Linked DNA regions of Homo sapiens: region 1 is linked to region 2. The links are contacts of gene promoters, found by promoter capture Hi-C in blood cells and fetal thymus (Javierre and others, 2016). All regions are on one chromosome and are shown on one strand. The core of a region is centred on a gene start or on the middle of the fragment in contact, and the rest is flanking DNA. Distances in the headings are between cores, read along the strand shown. Region 1 holds the start of ZBTB8A (zinc finger and BTB domain containing 8A). Region 2 holds the start of SYNC (syncoilin, intermediate filament protein).

Region 1 (3,522 bases), core at 657-3,156, 160 kb after region 2:
AAAATCCAAATGGAAACATTTTAAATATCTGTAAGAGTTAAATATTATAATAGTCCCAAGAATATAACAGAATTCAAGATTTCCATCAAGTTCAATGATCTTTAAAAAGGTGGTTGGGAAAGACAATTACACATTTTAGGAACCATTAAGTTCGAAAGTCTTTGGAATAGAAGCCAATGACATGTATTTCTATGAGTAGACTGAAGATTTAAGTAGCGAGTGTAACTTGAACTAAGGTTGTCGTTGAGAAGATCAACTCTCTTTTTTTGAGACGGAGTCTTGCTCTGTCGCCCAGGCTAGAGTGCAGTGGCGCAATCTCGGTTTACTGCAACCTCTGCCTCCCAGGTTCAAGTGATTCTCCTGCTTCAGCCTCCCGAGTAGTTGTGATTACAGGTGCCTGCCACTGTGTGCTAATTTTTGTATTTTTAGTAAAGAAGATGGGGTTTCACCTTCTTGTCCAGGCTGGTCTCGAACTCCTGACCTCGTGATCCACACCCCGCCCCCCCGACCCCCGAGGCCTTGGCCTCCCAAAGTGTTGGAATTATAGGTGTGAGCCACCACACTCGGCTGGGAAGATCAACTCTTTTAAGATATATAGTCATTAATCTAAAATTTAATGTGTCCCACCAGGGTCAGCAAAACTAATCTTGTTAGCCTGCTTAGCAAACGTTCCTGAGTCATAAAGAACTTCAGCTAACTAGAGTGGTAACTGTATTCCTTGATGGATAAATGATCCTTCAGCTTTGGAAGATTTAGAATTAAGTACAGATGCTCTTCAACTGACGATGGGGTTACATTCCAATAAACCTATTTTAAGTTGAAAACATTGTAAGTTTAAAATGCATTTAATACCCCATTAAACGCACTGTAAAGTCAAAAAATCGTAAGTCAAGCCATTGTAAGTCAGTGATCGTCTGTATTAAAAACATTTAAGAGCTATGGTTTGAACATTTGTGTCCCCTCCAAAATTCATGTTGAAACTTCATCCCGATTGCAACGGTATCATCTTTAGGAGGTGATTGGGCCACGAAGACTCTGCCCTCATGGATGGAATTAGTGCCCTTATAAAAGCACCTGAGGGAGTGAGTTTAGCCTCTTCTGCCCTTCCATTCCTTCTGCCACGTGAGGACACAGCAGTCCTCCCATCCAGAGGATGCAGCAACACGGTGCCATCTTGGAAGCAAAGAGCAGCCCTCACTAGACACCAAACTGCCTAAACTTCTCAGCCTCCAGAAGTGTGAGAAATAAATTTGTTCTTTATAATTACCCAGTCCCAAAGTATTTTTATAGCTGCACAAATGGCCTGAGACAGAAAAGATTTAGAATTAATAAAAACACTTAAGAGAATCAAAACTATAGTTGAGGAAAGCCTCATTGAGAAGATGGCATTTGGGTAAAGTCCAAAGGAAGTAAGAGAGTCATGTGGGTGTCTGGGGGAAGAGCATTTCAGGCAAAGGGAACGGCAAGTGCAAAGGCCCTGAGGTGAGCAGGCAAGGAGGCATGGGGGAAGCAATGGGATATGGAGTCAGAAAGGGAAAGCAGATCATGAGAGAAGTAGGACATGGTGAGACCAGGTGCTTGTAAGGCTGCATAGACTATTATGGAGCTTTTGGCTTTTAAACTGCGTAAGATGGGGAGCCACTGACCAATTTTGAGCAGAAAAGTGGCAAAAGCTTCATTCAAGGGAATCAAACACATCAAATCTTTAAATATGATTAACATATCATTGTGTCACTGAGTTAAGTCTATTACACAGTTTTATCTAAAAATTAGATTTAAATGACATACGATGAATTAAATTACTCTATCTTACAAAGTTTTTGATGGCCCCAAATCATTATCAACAGCGAAGCTGGTGATTTCAGGGCTAGGAGATAAGGGTTAGTGGTGTGGCCTCCTTCCTGGAGTCCCTACTCATTATGCCTCCTGCTGACATTTTAGAGCACAATCCACCCAGACACCCATTTGATCAAGGGCCCTAAGCCAGATTCTCACTTCCCAGTTGCCACTTGTGTGGCCAGAGAGGTTCCCAGGAATAAAGACATCTGATCCCTGCTTATCAGTGAGGGGCTCTTGCTCCAGTCTACAAACGCATCCATACCTGAGGCATGGAGGAGATAAGACTGGAGCAGAAGCTTGTTGAGGATTTTGGAGGCTTTCCTGAAAAAGATCAGTTAAGGTTTTTAGAGCAGGGAAGCGCTGTGTTAAGACTGGCCCTTCTAAAGACTCCTCTGGAGGTGCCTTAGGAGGGAAGGCAGGGCGGGAACAGGAGGCCCTGGGCGGCTATGGTCACCCTAGCCTAGAGGTGAAACGCCATGCTTCATACGTGTTCCCTCATCTGCAAAGTGGAATTACCGTCAGCCTGACTAGGTGGTTGTTTTATGTGAAATTAAGTGAAATAATTCATATAGGTGAAAGCACTCCATTTAAAGTTGTGCAACTATAAAGGTTTATCAAGCATAGAGGTGATATTGACGTGTGTGGTTAGAAGCCCACCAGGTGTGTGTGAATCTACCGCTTCCAAACGCGTCTTAGAATGATGTGGAGTAGGGCCATTGGAACAATCGGGGATACATAAGCGCATCTGAAGGGGAAGGGAACAAGCCGCTGACTAACTCACAAAAGAGGCGGTCCGCATGGGTAGAGATGAGCATGTAAGGTTCCGTCCAGAAGCAAATAGTTGGGAGCTCAACATTGGTTAGGCGCGGTGAGTTCGCCCTCGGTTCTAAGCCCAGATGTCGCATCTTGACATAAAACCAAGGATGGAGGCTGCACCGAGAAACTCGGGCTACTGCCCTGGGAGCCAGGTTCCCCGGCAGCGCCCCTGGCCGCGCCCGCAGAGACTCCGGCCCCGGCCCTGCCCTGCCCTCCCCGCGCGCCCCCGCGGCGGCCGCCCGTCTTTGCTCCGCGCAGCCCGAGCCCCTCCAGAGTCCGCGGCGCCCGACGGCTCCAGACACGCCCGGCGCCGTCCCCGCCGCCTTCCCGCCGCCGCCTCCAGGAGGCTCCGCGCGCCTTCCCGCCTTTCCCCGGGCCGGGCCGGGCGGCGAGGCGGGCGCGGGCGGCGACGGCGCGGCCATTGTCCCGCAGCCCCTCCCGGGCGCCTCCCGCCGCGCTCCCGGCCCGGGGACGTCTGGGGGAGGCGCGCCCGGGGCCCGCATCCCAGCACTGCCGCCGCCCGGGCCGTCAGAGCCCGCGGCCAGGCTCGCGGCGGGTCCCGGGCAGCCCCGACGCCCGCCCGCCCTCCGCCGGCGCCGCGTGCAGCCACTTACCGCGGGCCGCGGCGCACCGGCCGGTCGCGCGCGCGGGCCGAGGGAAGATTCCTGGTTCTCGGCTGGGGAAGGACCCCCTTTCGAGGCCGTTCCTTTGCGCCCTAAAACAAGTAGCCCCAACGTGAGAGAAACAAAAGGTATTTGCTGACGTGGGCGTTGGACAGAAACGCCCGAGGGCTGGGGACACAATTAAAGGGGCAACGCACAGATTTCAGGCACCAACCAGCAGCTTCGCCCACTCCCCCTGCCCTTG
Region 2 (3,955 bases), core at 1,050-3,549:
GTAAATGGGGTGAGGCATGGTGGCTCCTGCTTGTAATCCCAGCACTTTGGGAGGCTGAGTCTGGAGGATCCCTTGAGGCCAGGAGTTTGAGATCAGCCTTAACAACATAGTGAGACCCCATCTCTATTAAATAAAATTTTACAAAACCCAACAAAACAAAAAAGCCCATAACAAAAAAATAAATGGGTGGACATTATGGGCAGGGGGTGGGGAGGCATCAGAGAAGGCCTCTGTGAGATGTGATCTGAGACCTGAAGGAGAGTAAAAGGTGGGCTGTGAAGAGCTGGAAAGGGTTTTCTAGGCAGAGGGAGCAGCAGAAAAGGCCTGGCTGGGTGTGGTGGCTCACTCCTGTAATCCCAGCACTTTGGGAGGCTGAGGTAGGAGGACTGCTTGAGCCTAGGAGTTTGAGACCAGCCTAGGCAACACAGTGAGACCTCGTCTTTACAAAAAATACAAAAATTATCCAGGTGTGGTGGTGTGCATCTGTAGTTCCAGCTACTCGGGAGGCTGAGATGGGAGGATCACCTGAGCCCAGGAGGTTGAGGCTGCCGTGAACCATGATTGCACCACCGTACTCCTGCCTGGATGACAGAGTGAGACCCTGACTGCAAGAAACAACAGCAACAAAAAAAACAACAACAAAGGCTTGGAGGTGGGGAAGTTTCTGGGACCCTGGGGAATTCAGGGTTTCAGCCTAAAGAAGCGCTGAGCAGGAGGGTAGGAGCGGGTCAGAAATTCAGTCCTAGGGACAGCCTAAGGCCAGGTCCTGGGCTGGGGGTTGGAGGGGCAGAGCCAGCTCTTCTGAATGCCACCCTTGCCGCCTGTTGCTTGGTACCACAGCAAACAGAGCCTCTGGCAGGCCTGCCCTTGCTGCCTTAGCTCTCCTCTGGCGGGCAGCAGATGTCAAATGCCCAGCAGCTGAGGCTTCGCCAGCCTCCTCCCCTGGAATAGTTCGGGGGTAAGTCAGAAAATGACCAGCAGCCTCAAAACCTGGCTTTTTCTCGTGCGTACCTTACAAGGGTATATTTGGCTGCCCTGGGTGTTAAATCTTCCACCCCCTTGCATTAGACAGAGAAATATAAATATACAGCCACAGGCAGCACACTCAGACGCGAGGATGAATGAACATTTATCAACCCCCAGTCACGCACAAGCACACAGTCAGAGTCACAAGCGGGACCATATGCATGCCCCCCACACAGAGTCAAAACCGCCAGCCCCACAAAGACACTCCACCATGGCACAATCACCACACACATTCACCCTGAGATCACACAATCACACATCCACATGCTCACACACAGACATGTACCCCACAATCACCGCAGAGTCACACAGGGGCACACAAGCCCACACACATTCAACACCACGGCATGCTTCCCCCACCGGCCTCCCAGGCACCCCAGCCCCTGGGGCTTGTTATGGTGCCAGCATTCTTCTGCGATTGAGTCAAAGACCTCCCCAGACAGGGTAGCTAAGTGGAAAAAGGAATCCGAAGGAAGAACGCCTGAAGCCCAGGTCTGGGAAGGGGCCCAGCAGCTTCTCTCTTGGGGAGAAAGACGTCAGTGCTGGTTTGACCCTCACACTAGTGGGCTGAGGACGTGGGGGGAGGTATGTCTTGAAGTTGACAGAAGTGGGCTGAGTGGGGTGACAGGTGGAGCAGGAGAGAGACCCCAGGAAGCCTCAAAGGGTGGGGCAGAAAGTGGGGTTAAATATGGACTCAATGTGATAGGCGTAAACTCCTCCGCAGTTCTCTCTAACCCCAGCCACCCAGCCCGCCCCCAGGCTCCAGGCTGTCCCCAAACGCGCGGGGTGTGGCCGTGAACCCTCCTCCCCGGCCGCGCCCTGCCCCGCCCTTCACGACAGCTGCCGGGGACAGCCCGGAGTGCCCAGAGGGTGGCTGCGGCCCTTCCCCTCTTGGGTGGGGACCAGAGGGCGCTGAGCGGCAGCGGACACCCCCAAACACTCGCGGGAGAGGGGTGCTGGCTCCCTTTGAGCAGCCCGCCCAACCCTGCCTCCACCCTCCCAGGCTGGACAGGGAAGGTGCTCCCTGGGGCTTCAGACCCCCCTTCTGACTCCCCCTGCAACGGGACCTCACGAAAGGAAGGGTGGAGAGAAGGTTCGGGAAGACGAGGGGGCTGGGAGGTTTGGAAAGACAGCTCCAGGCCCCCGTTCCCACCCCCGCCCCAGGCTGGTCCGGGAGGGGCAGCCTCTCCCCGCCCCCAGGTCCGCGCGGCCGCTCCCTCCTCCCCCGGCAGGAGCCCCGGCCAAGTGGGCGCGCCCGGCCCGGGGCCGGCCGGGATCCGGTGTCGGTTGCAGCTGGCAGTGCGGCGGGCGCGGGCGCCGGAGCGAGGGGCCCGCGGGCCCGGCTATTAATAACGCGGCCGCCAGCCCGGGGTCGCGCAGCCATGGCCAGCCCGGAGCCCCGGCGCGGCGGGGACGGCGCCGCCCAGGCCGCGAGGTAGGACAGTGCCGGGCCCGCGTCGCCGCCCCGCTGGGGAAGGGGTGCTGCTGGACGGGTTCCCTTTCCCCCCGACCGCGGGCGTCTTTCGCCTGTCTAGGGGTAGTGGTCCAGCCGGGGTGGGGCACTGGAGCCGCCTCGTGAGGGGACATCGGGGAGTCGGGCCGTCCCGGGGTCCTGGCACCTCCGTTTGTCTGTGGCTTTTTATAATACCCCTCCCCCTCCCGGGACTACATGAAAATTAACCCTTCCAGGCGAGTGGGCATCCACCGCTCAAGTGCCATTTGGCCCATAGCAGCCAAAGACACTTCTCGCTAGCCTTCATTCCTCCCTGCAAATGTCAGTTGGAGACAGAGGCCTCCCCTGCTGAAGTGGCTGTGTGGAAGCCACTTGGTGCAAGGCTGGGCATCTGCCAGCTTGAAGTTAAGAGTCTGTCAGGGCTTGTTCTCTCCCGTCTGGCCTGGGATGGGTGGGGGAAGGGTCCAGGGGCCCTCCCCACTATCCCTCCTGGCAGGGCACGGCTGATTATTGGGGGAAGGGACCTGTGGCTGAGGGGTTTGGGGTGAGGTGTATTTCTGTCCCAGGTCATACTGTGGCTCTGGGACTTCCCAGTGTACCAAGAGGTGAGGGTGCAAATACATAGCTCCCGACACCCCTTCACTGTCACACAGGGGCACAAAGCTGAGCGGTCTTACACACACACACTCACCCATACTGCTGTCCACACCTACAGCTACAGTCAGACACACGGACTCTTGCCTGCACAATGTCACATGGACTCCCAGCCACATCCCTGAACAGGGTTGGAGAGCTCTGCGGTTCTCTGGGGACAGGGACAGAGTGGCAGAGGCAGGCTGCCCAGGGCCCAAGGAAGCCCGAGGTCAGGGGCCCCAACTAAGCTGGCTTCCTCTCCTCTGAGCCTCCTGTCATCTGCTTCTTTCCCTCCTCTCTCTGTTTAAAAGAGGCGGCTGTGTGAGGGCAGCACCCAGCAGAGGCCTGGCACCATGGGTGGGGTGGTGGAGGCAGCACGATGTGTGCTAACAGCACAGCTTGGAGGTCAGGAGGCCTGGGTTTTACTTCCAGCTTTGCCATTCGACCTTGGGCAGATTTCCTCCTTGGAGTTCATCTGGTTTCTGCCTGTCTGCCCTTACAGAGCCCCACCCTAGGATATAGAGCAGAATGAGAACTCTGCTTGTCCTTAGGAAACTCACTATCAGGGAGACAGACACATGTACTTCTGTAACTGGAGCAATAAGTGTGAAGATGTGCTGCATACAGAGTGCCCTGAGAACACACATGGGGCTGTCTGGGAGATACTTTACGGAAGAGATGAAGTTTGAGCAGGGCTTGAAGGATGAGTAGAAATTTGTTAGATAGATAGAAGTATATTGTGGGCCCGGCGCGGTGGCTCACGCCTGTAATCCCAGCACTTTGGGACGCCGAGGTGTGCGGATCACCTGAGGTCAGGAGTTCAAGACCAGCCCGGCCAACATG

The links. The method cuts DNA at HindIII sites, captures the fragments that hold promoters and counts their contacts. A CHiCAGO score of 5 or more calls a contact.
Region 1: a fragment that was not itself captured here is called in contact with the fragment with the promoter of SYNC in region 2 in 1 of 17 cell types (M1 macrophages); the score reaches 5.1 in M1 macrophages.

What each region holds. Positions count from the first base shown.
Region 1 is chr1:32,539,320-32,542,841 of GRCh38, reverse strand. It overlaps ZBTB8A (zinc finger and BTB domain containing 8A), which reads right to left and starts at 3,415. Exons shown (of 5, transcript NM_001040441.3): 1 at 3,270-3,415. LOC124903952 (a long non-coding RNA gene) reads left to right here. Exons shown (of 2, transcript XR_007065669.1): 2 at 1,013-1,266. RefSeq lists a silencer at 2,683-3,052. The HindIII fragment of the contact is 462 bases long and covers 1,676-2,137 here.
Region 2 is chr1:32,701,114-32,705,068 of GRCh38, reverse strand. SYNC (syncoilin, intermediate filament protein) reads left to right here and starts at 2,299. Exons shown (of 5, transcript NM_030786.3): 1 at 2,299-2,461. The coding sequence starts at 2,409. RefSeq lists silencers at 1,750-1,839, 1,890-1,939 and enhancers at 1,300-2,065, 2,066-2,831. The HindIII fragment of the contact is 11,042 bases long and covers 1-3,955 here.